Regions from separate parts of the Homo sapiens genome. Here regions 1 and 2 are each linked to region 3. The links are contacts of gene promoters, found by promoter capture Hi-C in human tissues and cell types (Jung and others, 2019). All regions are on one chromosome and are shown on one strand. Each heading gives the region's core, a stretch centred on a gene start or on the middle of the fragment in contact. The rest is flanking DNA. Distances are from core to core; before and after follow the strand shown.

Region 1 (3,526 bases), core at 292-2,791, 1.2 Mb before region 3:
TAGCTGGGACTACAGGTGTGTGCCACCACGCCCAGCTAATTTTTGTATTTCTTTAAAGAGACAGTGTTTCACTATGTTGCCCAGCCTGGTCTTGAACTCCCGGGCTCAAGGGATCTTCCCTGCCTCAGCCTCCCAAAGTGCTGGGATTACAGGTGTGAGACACTGCACCCAGCCACATGCATTAACTTTCACCTTGCAACAAATAACCCTATAAAAATAATTATTAAAATCCCATTTTACAGATGAGGAGACTGAGACATAGATTAAATAACTTGCCTAAGGTTCCACAACCAGTACATAGCAGGGCCAGTATTCAAACCCAGGAATACTGTATAGAGAGGCCCTACTGTTAAGCACCAGGGTTTACTCTCTGGAAGGAGATTATATTTTTAGGACAAATTGCTATACAAACATTTTCCAAGGTTTCGAAACTATGTTAGCCAAAAGTTTTTGGGAATAATCTATAATAAGTTGAGTCAGAATTTAACATGTGTCATATCAAATAAAATAAAAAATGTGACTTTTAAAAATTGCTTATTATAACCTAAAGTTTCAGGCCAAGAACAATTAACATTTCCAATAGCTCCCCTTTTAATAGAACCAAAAGGAATGAAAAAGTCCTAAAAATGATATTTATTTATTCAGTATTATTTATTCAGTTTTCTTTTTGAGACGGAGTCTCGCTCTGTCACCCAGGCTGGAGTGCAGTGGCGCGACCTTGGCTCACTGCAACCTCTGCCTCCTGGGTTCTAGCAATTCTCCTGCCTCAGCTTCCAGAGTAGCTGGGATTACAGGCGCCTGGCACTACACCTGGCAAATTTTTATATTTTTCGTAGAGACGGGGTTTCACCATGTTGGCCAGGCTGGTCTCGAACTCCTGACCTCAAGTGATCTACACGCCTCAGCCTCCCAAAGTGTTGAGATTACAGGCGTGAGCCACCGTGCCTGGTCATAGTCAGTTTTAAGGGATGTCATGCTATGATCCCAAACCCAGGGGTCTCAAAACTAAGAAGCATTTTGACATTTTATTTTGTTTGACTAGGATTCACTCAAAAGAATGACCAAAGCTGTCATTCTTTTCAGTAGGTAGCTAAGAAATGCAGAGTCTGACATATTCACATGACTCTTGACAGGTCTAGTTCTCTGTGAAACAGCTACCCCAGGAAGGAGCTTCAGACAGGGCAAAGTAAAACCCCTGTGCGTTCTGCTGCTCTTGTTAGTACCAATCTTATCTAGTTCTGCTGAACTTGGCAAATTCCACTGAATGACACAATGTAGCATTTAGGATTAAGCTCCTTCCATTGGCTATTGAGATTACTCAGAATCATGAGTTGGCTCTTTGGAGTAACACTGAAATCATCCCAAATCAAAAACAATAAACTGTTACAATTTACTTGCACATCAGTTCCTGTACACACAATATCTGACTATACTCAACACACTGCAGGTCGCTTCTGTTTAGTTTCCTGCTTTGGCCTCACAGATCTTTCTTTAAACCTGCTCAAAGATTTAACAAGTTAATATTTCATAATTTCTGACAGAATGAAACGCAGTAAGATTTCACGCTCTAATTTTTTTTTTCATGAGGATGGAATTTTCTCAGTTGAATGAAGCAAAGTTATCTCTGGACAAGTGTTTTAAAAAGAAAACAAAACAAAAAAGAACTCCATAAGTTTCCCAACTTACAATACTTTAAGAATAAGAGTGGTAAGCTTTCCTCATTCACTACCACTCTGTGCTTCCTTTTATTAATCTTAAATTTGCCACTTTCAGGTTTTAAACTGCCTTCCAATTCTTAGAATTCCAGAATATGGTAAAAATGTACTTAATCTAATTACGTAAGATTTGTGCTTTTAAAATCAATAATCCTCTCTCTATACCTACATCTATTCAAAGAAGATTCTGGCTGGGCACCATGGCTCATGCCTGTAATCCCAGCACTTAGGGAGGCCGAGGTGGACGGATCACTTGAGGTTAGGAGTTTGAGACCAGCCTGGCCAGCACGGCGAAACCCTGTCTCTACTAAAAATACAAAAATTAGCCAGGCGTTGTGGTGCACACCTGTAATCCCAGCTTCTTGGGCAGCTGAGGCAGCAGAACCACCTGGAAACAGAGGTTGCAGTGAGCCGATGCCACTGCACTCCAGCCTGGTGACAGAGTGAGGTCCATCTCAAAAACAAAAAACAAAAACAAAGAAGATTCTGATCGTTCTAGCCTGTTCTCTCACATGGAGTTCTTTGTTTTCTGATCACTTAAGTTTTCCTTCTCTGGTTTACCTCAAGGTCACTCTGTCCTCTAAATATGGATATTAAGCTGTATACCATGATTCATGTACAGATAAAAATCACAGTTTTACAAGACAGGAAATGGAGGATATTTTCTGTTTGGATCATTTTTCAGTAACACTCAACATTGTGCTGGCATTTTTGGTCCCAGAAACACAATGCAAAAATGTCTTCAATAAATAATCTATATCGCTTCTCGGACTTTTGGCTAAGATCAAGTGAAGAAACAATCTACAGTCTGTTTTCTGATACAAAACTGAGACTCTTGAGGATGATCATCCGAAAAGCAGTTTCATGGTCTTTTTCCTAAGTGCACACTGCCTTAGGCAGATTCCCCATACCATAACTCAGCAGACATTTTTCAGTTCATTCTCATGGCTTTGTGAGCTCTCCTGTTATCAATCGAATTCATTTACTTAGTTCAGTAGAAAGAACAAGGGCCACAGACTCAGACCTGCTTTGAATCCTGGCTCTAACAGTGACTTGCTTTGTGATCTTAGATAAGTAATTAGTACAAAGCCTCACTTTTTCCACTGGTCCATGGGGATAATATCATTGCTTTCACTGGATTGAGAACATTAAAAGAGAGGTGGGAGTAGTAACTCATGTCTGTAATTCCAGCACTTTGGGAGGCCGACATGGGAGGATCATTTGAGGCCAGGAGTTTGAAAACGGCCTGGGCAATATAGCGAGACTCTGTCTATACAAAAAAAAAATAAAAAAGTAGCCAGGCGTGGCAGTGTGAGCCTGTAGTCCCAGCTACTAGGGAGACTGAGGCAGAAAGATTGCTTGAGCCGGGAATCGAAGTCTGTGGTGAGCTACAACTGCACCACTACACTCCAGCCTGGGTGACAAAGCAAGACCCTGAGACGCTGTCTCCAAAAAAAAAAAAAAAGAAACTGAGTACCTAGAACATATCTAGTTAATGTTAGTGACTTTACTTCCTCATCTTAGAAAAGCTTGAAAATTATATATAGTCCTTATAAACACATATAAAAACATTCTATAAGATCAAGTACAATAACAGTCCTTTAACTGCTTTTTTAAGTTTCCTAACCCTAAACTTTCTTCTTATTCAGGAAGAAAATCAATTTTCCCAAATCCTAAAGAAATTAATTTTTAAATTATTGTTTCTTCCATTAAAAAAAGGCAATGTCAAAGGTTTTTGAAAGTTTAAACTATACCTGCTGACAGCTCCCTTATTAAGTCCTACTCAACTGTTATCTCTCACAGGGGTTAGG
Region 2 (3,959 bases), core at 95-2,594, 1.4 Mb before region 3:
CGGAGCTTGCAGTGAGCTGAGATCAAGCCACTGCATTCCAGCCTAGGCAACGGAGGGAGACTCTGTATCCAAAAAAAAAGAAAAGAAAAGAAAAATGCCATCTGCCCGTGGTGTTTCCCAAGCAGACATGGGAGGTGCTGAGCCTAATGAACCTCATAAAAGCCCACGCCAAAGCGATTCAGAGAAATGCAAAAGATGAGTGCCAGGCAAGGGCAAGGCAACCTCGGAGCAGCCTACGTGACAGAAATCAGCTCAATCTGGCCCCGCATGGAAGAAGGCTCCCGGGCCTCCCAGAAGAAGGATTAAGTTCAGTTGATGAATGCATGGCATCAGTTACTCCTCTTGATTGCTCTCCAAATCCCCCTCTGGGATGCAAGGGGAGATCTAGGGCATCAACCCAGGGCTTCTGTAGGAGAGAAGAGACACCCAATATACCACCGTCTTGGTGAGCATCTTCCATGCTGGGTGCAGCCTCCCACTTAGTAGGAGACGTATGATATCTGATCATTTTCTGCCTATATATTACAGAAAAAGTACTTTTAAATAACAGGTGGATGGAAGGGCAGGATAAAACTTGAACACCAAAATCTTTCTGTTCTTCCAGGATGGATAGGAGCCCTGTACCTGAGGGCAAACTCAAGGTGGGTGCTGTGTCTGGGATTGTTGTAAAGCACCTGTCACAAGGCTGGGCACAAAGCAGCTTTCATGAGCAGGCTGTCTAACTGCTACAAAACAAACGTTCCTCTCGCATTCTAGGATATGCAAGGGCCATTGGCCCAGAGCTTGGATTGGAATCCCAGCCCTCGCACTTGCAGGCTCTGTGGCTTCAGGCAAGTCATTTCACTTCTCTGGACTGCTCATTACTTCATTTATAACAGGAGGATAAGCCTATCTATCTTCGGGGTTGATGGAAGGATTAGAAATGGTGTATGCAGGGCTTGCGTCCCACAGATTCCCGATAAATGATATCAATTATCTGCTCCCTCCAAACTCCTCACTTTCTTCTAACCATCTCTTGTGAAAAGGACAGAATCACACAACTCCTACCCATGACTCCCGGCAGGTCTGTGGAGAGGTCCAGAGAGCAACTGCTAGGGTCATCCCCTTCCCGAGCTCACTGGAGGACAAGAGGACTCAACACGTGTCCTTGTGTCCTTTAGAGTGACAGATGCCTGGGTTTGCCTAGGACAGCCCTGGTTTGCACTGCTGTCCTGCAATCATTTTTAGTAGGATATAGAAGTGTATTCGTTTGGACAAGAACCTAAACGTTCATCCTACAAAGAGGGCTGAAGCCCCATCTAACTGTGCAAAGTGACACAACAACACGCCACCAATGCTGTGCCCAAGCTGTGGCTTTCTGCCCAGTTTCCATTTAAAACTCTGAAGCTAAAGTTGCACTTCCTCCAAAAGATTAGGTCCTCCCTCACTGGGCTCAGAGTTAGCTCCAAAATATCTGTCAAGGCCTCAGGGACAGTTTCCTCATTCAACTCTCTCCTTGCTTTAAGGATGGACCCATCCTACCTGCTTTTTCATCCCCTGTGATTTCTGCAGCTAATGAGCTAAGGTACTAAATAAATAAATAACAGTAATTAAAAAAAAAACAAACTCCCAGCTGAAGCAAAAAGGCATGAGATATGCCTGTCCACACAAAGAAGCTGCTCGCCTCTGCCAGAACTGGCTAATAATGGGTCCTCCCTTTGCTTTCAGTTCTGCTGGGTCCATACTATCCCTTGGTTTGACACTACAAAAGAGGAAGGAGCCACCAGCCACACCCGGCTGGAGAGAAGAGAGCTCTGCCCTCTGCCAGGCCTCTCCCACGCTGCACTGCTGGGCATGGTAGGCCCTACATGACTAAATGCTTCCTTAGCCGAAACACCCACTGGGGAAGAATTTGTCACCAATACTTCCAGCAGCACGACCCTGCAGCCCTGCCTGGAAGCTCAGCAAACTGCAAGGCAGCGGGGAAGAGGGCAGAGGTCTGGTTCAGCGAGGAATGCAACCCCCCTAGCAGACAATGCAAGGAATCCACCATGAAAAACGGAGGGGCTTGAATTCAACAGCACAGCAATGGCCACTTATAAAGTTGGCCTCATTTGAATGCCAAAAAAGGCTGAAAATTCAAAGATAGCAAGAGTTATTGATTTGACGGGCTGTTTTCTGGGAACACTGCTTTACATCTGCAGGGCCAGATGTGTTGTCAAGAAAATCAGGCTCCAAATTCTCCAGAGATTATTTGGAGGAGGAAAAAAAAAATAGCGAAAAGTAAAATTTTTATTTTCTTGCATAAGAAGTCTTCTTACAGGATTATAAGCCCTATAAGCTACATTATACCTTTTTTTTTAAGATGGGGTCTCACTGTCTCCCAGACTGAAGTGCAGTGGCACAATCATAGCTCACTGCACCCTCAAACTCTGGGGCTCAAGCAATCCTCCTACCTCAGCCTCCCAAGCAGCTAGGACTACAGGTATGTGTCACCACGCCCAGCTAATTTTTTATTTTTATTTTTAGTTATTGATTGATTGATTGATTGATTGATTTTGGTAGAGACAAGGCTTCACTTTGCTGCCCAGGCTGGTCTTGAACTCCTGGCGCCTTCAAGTGATCCTCCCACCTCAATCTCCCAAAGTGCTGGGATTACAGGCATAAGTCACCATGCCCAGCCAATAAGAAAGCTTCTTATACATCGTTGTTTTTCCTGCTATGTTCAAAACGCAAACTCATGTACATAGGCTTGAAGTTGAAACAATCCTTGAGACTTCTTCCTGATCTCACTAAGTGACAGTGAAGTGAGATAACCCATCTGGAATCAGGTGGCATGCAACTGCATCTTTGGTATATGAAAGATGAACAGATGAATGGTCAATTGATAGATTAGATAAACAATAGATATATACAGATAGATTAGAAAGATGATAGATTAATGATAGATTAGGATAAGTAAAACAGATAAGTGATAATCAATAGATATAGAGACGATGGATTAAATAGAGATGATAGACCATAGGTACAGACAGATGTCATATCAAGATAGATATAGACCAGATAGATATATATCAATATATAGATAGATTAGATAAATGATAGGTAGGTAGGGAAATAGATAGATGGTAGATTTGGTAGACGATCATTTCGTAAGCTTCTGGAGGCCACCTGGCTATAGAATTCACCTATCCCAGGTCATGCTAGATAGATAAATATATATTAATAGATAGATAGAGATAGATGATAAAAAGATAAAGATGGATACAGACAGGTGTGAGAGAGAGAGAGAGGGAGATCTTTTCACACTTGTTCCAAAGGTGTCACAATGATTACTTTCAAATAGTATGGCACAAAAAAACTCACTTTTTCCATAGTCGTAAGACATAAGAATTGATTGTCTCCACTTTACACATGTGGAAATAGCCATCTAGAAACACATTAGGATGATCACGCTCAGACAGAAAGCACTAGAAAGGGAAGTTAAACTTAGATCTGATTCTTGGAGCGCTCCCATCCTGTCCTGTTGAGTTACTTACAATCCCATCCTCTGAAGCCTGGTCCAATAAACCGTGCCCAGCTGTGGGAGCGGGGCTGGGAAGGAGGTGAATGGCTGCCTTAAGAGTCCATGATTCTATGTTATTATCAGGCCCTTTTGATTTTTGTCTCACAGGCTCCCCACAAGGAAAGATTCCAGTCCTGACCTATCATTAGAGAGTGATTAGGTCATAAACACTACAGATTCAACCTAAAGACAGTAGGGTTTTCTCAGGGAAACCAGCACAGCAGGTGGCCACAGGCTGGGGACAGCAGTCCACATTCCAGTTCCCCTCTGCCCCCGGCACCCACCCTGTCCCACCAGCCAGCCCTGCTCTTGCTCATCACCACTTACTCCAAGTCCTAACCAGTGCCCTTTTAGGGAATTAGCCAAGTAAAACCTTCCCGAACACCAAGGACAGCAACTGAAGGAGGAGGCTCTT
Region 3 (3,439 bases), core at 872-3,371:
ACATTTTTGAAACATGTTTGCATTAATTACCCTCAACTGAATAGTTTTGAAAAGAGCTTTTAATCCTGATAAAATTAGAGTTGATAACATTTCTGTAGTGATTGGGCATTGTAAATATGCTTTCATCTAGGGGCCAGGTGAGGTGGCTCATGACTGTAATCCCAACACTTTGGGAGGCCGAGGCAGGCGGATCACCTGAGGTCAGGAGTTTGAGACCAGCCTGGCCCAGATGGCGAAACCTGGTTTCTACTAAAAATACAAAAATTAGTCAGGTGTAGTGATGCAAGCCCGTAATCCCAGCTACTCGGGGAGGGGGGCTGAGACAGGAGAATTGCTGGAACCTAGAGGTGGAGCTTGCAGTGAGCCGAGATTGCGCCACTGCACTCCGGCCTGGGCGACAGAGTGAGACTCCCTCGTCAGTCCGTCTCAAAAACAAACAAACCAAAAAAAAAAAAAAAAAGAGCCCTGAGGCAGAAGCAACATCTCTACCCATTTCTGAGATGCAGCTAAGGGAGAGACTAAGATTCTAAAAGCAACTTAAGAGCAAAAAAGAAAATGTCTTTTGAATTGAGGGAAAACAAAAAATAATAAATATATAAAGGATCACAACCTAAGAATAATATAGTAAATATGAGACTGTTAAAAAACAAAACAAACAACAACAAAAAACCCTGACTCCTGGCTACAGAGTTGAAAAGCCCCTAGACACGTTGAGTAGCTCTTAATTGAGACTGCACTTCATTAACCAGTGAGGTGAGGAAAAACAGGACCTCAGTAAGGGAGTAAAGTCAAAGACTAAATTACAAACAGGCCAAATGAATGGATCTGAGAGGAAGTGATAAAATTCGCAACACACTCAGCCGTGTTTATTGTAGGGAATCACCCCAGGTCTAACTGCCATTGTAATCACCCCGTTCAGGGCAGAAGTCTTCCCACAGGCCCTCAATAACTTCAATCCTTGATAAAAAGCCAAAGGAGCCTGACTTTCCACCTGGGTCAAAATCCCCGCACATCTATTGTTTCGGAGCCAAAGCACCACCACCAGCAACCCCTGCGCACAACCCGGGGCTCTCCAGCACCGCTGTTCTGAATGCCAAGTGCCCAGCACGGGGTCTGGCACAGTTTCCTTAATAAAATGTCCTCTTCTCGTCTCCAGGATGAAACTCAGGATCCGGAAGGCAGCCTTACACCCTCTCCAGACAGGCTCCGTTAGGGGATGAGTGCGCACAAACAGCCCCAGGGGCCAGCCACCCCCTTCCCGTGCCACAACTTCCTGTCCCTTCCATCACTTCCACGCCACGACTCTAGTTTCCATCCAGCTCACAACTGTCATCAAGATCCCAGTCTCTGGAGGAAAGGGGGCAGGGCGGCTTTCCACCCTCAACTCCTCACTTAAGGGGCGTCTGAGAAGAACCTACGAAAGCGGGGGGCAGAAAGCACTGGGACAATGAGCACCAGTCCATGTGCCGACCCGGGCTGGTCACCTACTCCCAGGTGAAACCCACGCTGGGCGCACCGGGGCGAGCCACAGAGCTGCGGCCCCAAAAGAGCAGCAGGCGCGCCCCCCTCGCGTTGACATTTCCCTGGTGTGAAGTGCCGGAGATTGGGATGCAAGAGCGGGATTACGGTCCCGAAGCTCAGCTGCACTTGGAAGCACTCGGAGTCCCCAAACCCTGGGCGACTTCCCCATCGGCGCTCCCTGGAGAGGACTCCTACCGTCCCCGGCTCCCAGAGCTGCGCAGCCGGGCCGAGCCCCCGGCCAGGGTCCTCCGCCGGGCTCTGCGCAAACCTGGCAGGGCCGCTGTCCGCGAACTTGGCCGCGTGGGTCGGGCCGGGACAAGGTGGGGCGCGCACTCACCAACCCCGTACTTCTGCCTCTTGGTCGGGATCCAGCGGGCCATGGCGGCGACCTCGCCCCGCGGCGGCGGCGACTAAGGCTGCTACAGCTCCTCGGGCTCCGGCCGCCGCCGCCCCGCGCTCCTGCGTGCCCCAGACGCTTCCGCCATGTTCCGCCAAACTTCGCTGGACTCCGCGGGCCGCCTCCTCGCCGCGCCGCCCGCGCCCGTGCCCGTGCCCGCGCCGCCCGCGGTCACCTGCTGGGCCGGGCTGCAGCGCAGCAGTGCGCGCCCCTCCTGGCGCCGCCCCAGTCCCTCCCGCCGGCCGCACCCTCCGCCCGCCGGGGCCGCCTCCGAGCCGCGGGCGCCCGGCCTCTCCCGCCCGCGCCGCTCTCTGCGCTCTGCCGGGCGGGGGCCGACTGCGGCTCCGCCTCGCGCGCTTCCCTGGAGCGGCTTCCTGGGCCGGCGGGACTTTGACGCTGGCGGCACTTTGCCTTTCTCCCGCCCTCCCCACCCGGCTGATACCCCGGAGGCTGGGTCCCGGGGGTCCGGCTCCCGACAGAGGGCTGCGCTGGAGGAGCCGGGCACGCCCAGGCCGGGCGGCCGGTGGGCGAGGGATGCGGGCTGCGCTCCCACGGCGCGCGCCGGACACTTGGGGAGCGGAAACGGATCAGCGAGAGCGGCTTCTTGCTCGGGGCACCTCCGGTGCCTGGCACTAAGCGGGCGCGCAATAAATATTTGTTGAATGAATGAGCAGTTGACTTCTGCCTTCACCCCCTGGAGCTTGAACCCGCGCCGCGAGCGGGAGAAGCCGGACTCAGGGCAGACTGAATCTCCCGGGGCCACCGCTTAGAGCCTGGAAAGCAGAACTTTTATCACCGGAGAGCTGGTGCAAGGGAGGTGGGCTCCTCAGAAGTATCAGACCGTTTGCTAGGGGATCCTCTGCAGGGAAATTGTTTAGAAAGCCCTAATTTGGAAGTCCTGTATCCCCAAACTCCGGGGACCCCCCAACCTTAAGCTGAAGAAACTTAGACCCTCATGCCCAGACCTCCCTTTCCCAACCAGCCAGCAGCCCAGAGAGCATTCCCGTGGAGAAAGGGCCAAGGCGCATCCCCGTCTTTTCTCCGTCAACGACTGCCTTTTCTTGACGAAGATCCCAAAGGGGCTGCGCATTTGAACCGCCTTGGGCTCCAGGTGGCGCCCTCTCTGGAGCTCCCCTCTTGGAATTCATTTCTTCCTGGAGAGACTTGGAGAATGAAGATCCAGGGGTTTCTCCCTACCTTGTACCGAGAAGTAACATTGCAAGTAGAGTAAATGACCAGCTTAATTACGTTCACCTTCGAAGAAGATTCCTCTAGAGAGAAATTATATCCTCCTTGCAGCCTGTGAAGGTTTTCATGCGTTTTAGGAATATAAAAGAAAGGAAGACAAACATGTAGTAAAGATAGTAAAGACAGGTAGTTGGCCAGGCGTGGTGGCTCATGCCTGTAATCTCAGCACTTTGGGAGGCCGAGGCGGGTGGATCACCTGAGGTCACGAGTTCCAGACCAGCCTGGCCAACATGGTGAAACCCCTTCTCTACTAAAATACAAAAGTTAGCCAGA

The links. The method cuts DNA at HindIII sites, captures the fragments that hold promoters and counts their contacts. A contact is called where the count stands out against the background at its distance.
Region 1: a contact is called between a fragment that was not itself captured here and the fragment with the promoter of DOCK5 in region 3, in 1 of the 25 tissues and cell types used here (hippocampus).
Region 2: a fragment that was not itself captured here is called in contact with the fragment with the promoter of DOCK5 in region 3 in 1 of the 25 tissues and cell types used here (hippocampus).

What each region holds. Positions count from the first base shown.
Region 1 is chr8:26,403,186-26,406,711 of GRCh38, reverse strand. The region is part of intron 3 of BNIP3L (BCL2 interacting protein 3 like); the gene reads right to left. Among named protein-coding and RNA genes, the nearest start is that of BNIP3L, 22 kb to the right of the region's middle. The HindIII fragment of the contact is 5,499 bases long and covers 1-3,526 here.
Region 2 is chr8:26,593,603-26,597,561 of GRCh38, reverse strand. All of the region lies in intron 3 of DPYSL2 (dihydropyrimidinase like 2), which reads right to left. LOC124901916 (a long non-coding RNA gene) reads right to left here. Exons shown (of 2, transcript XR_007060865.1): 2 at 2,233-3,959. Among named protein-coding and RNA genes, the nearest start is that of DPYSL2, 82 kb to the right of the region's middle. The HindIII fragment of the contact is 4,444 bases long and covers 1-3,566 here.
Region 3 is chr8:25,183,371-25,186,809 of GRCh38, reverse strand. It overlaps DOCK5 (dedicator of cytokinesis 5), which reads right to left and starts at 2,121. Exons shown (of 52, transcript NM_024940.8): 1 at 1,859-2,121. The coding sequence starts at 1,901. It overlaps LOC124901912 (a long non-coding RNA gene), which reads left to right and starts at 2,433. Exons shown (of 2, transcript XR_007060861.1): 1 at 2,433-3,439. RefSeq lists silencers at 1,824-1,873, 2,044-2,213, 2,224-2,303. The HindIII fragment of the contact is 16,568 bases long and covers 1-3,439 here.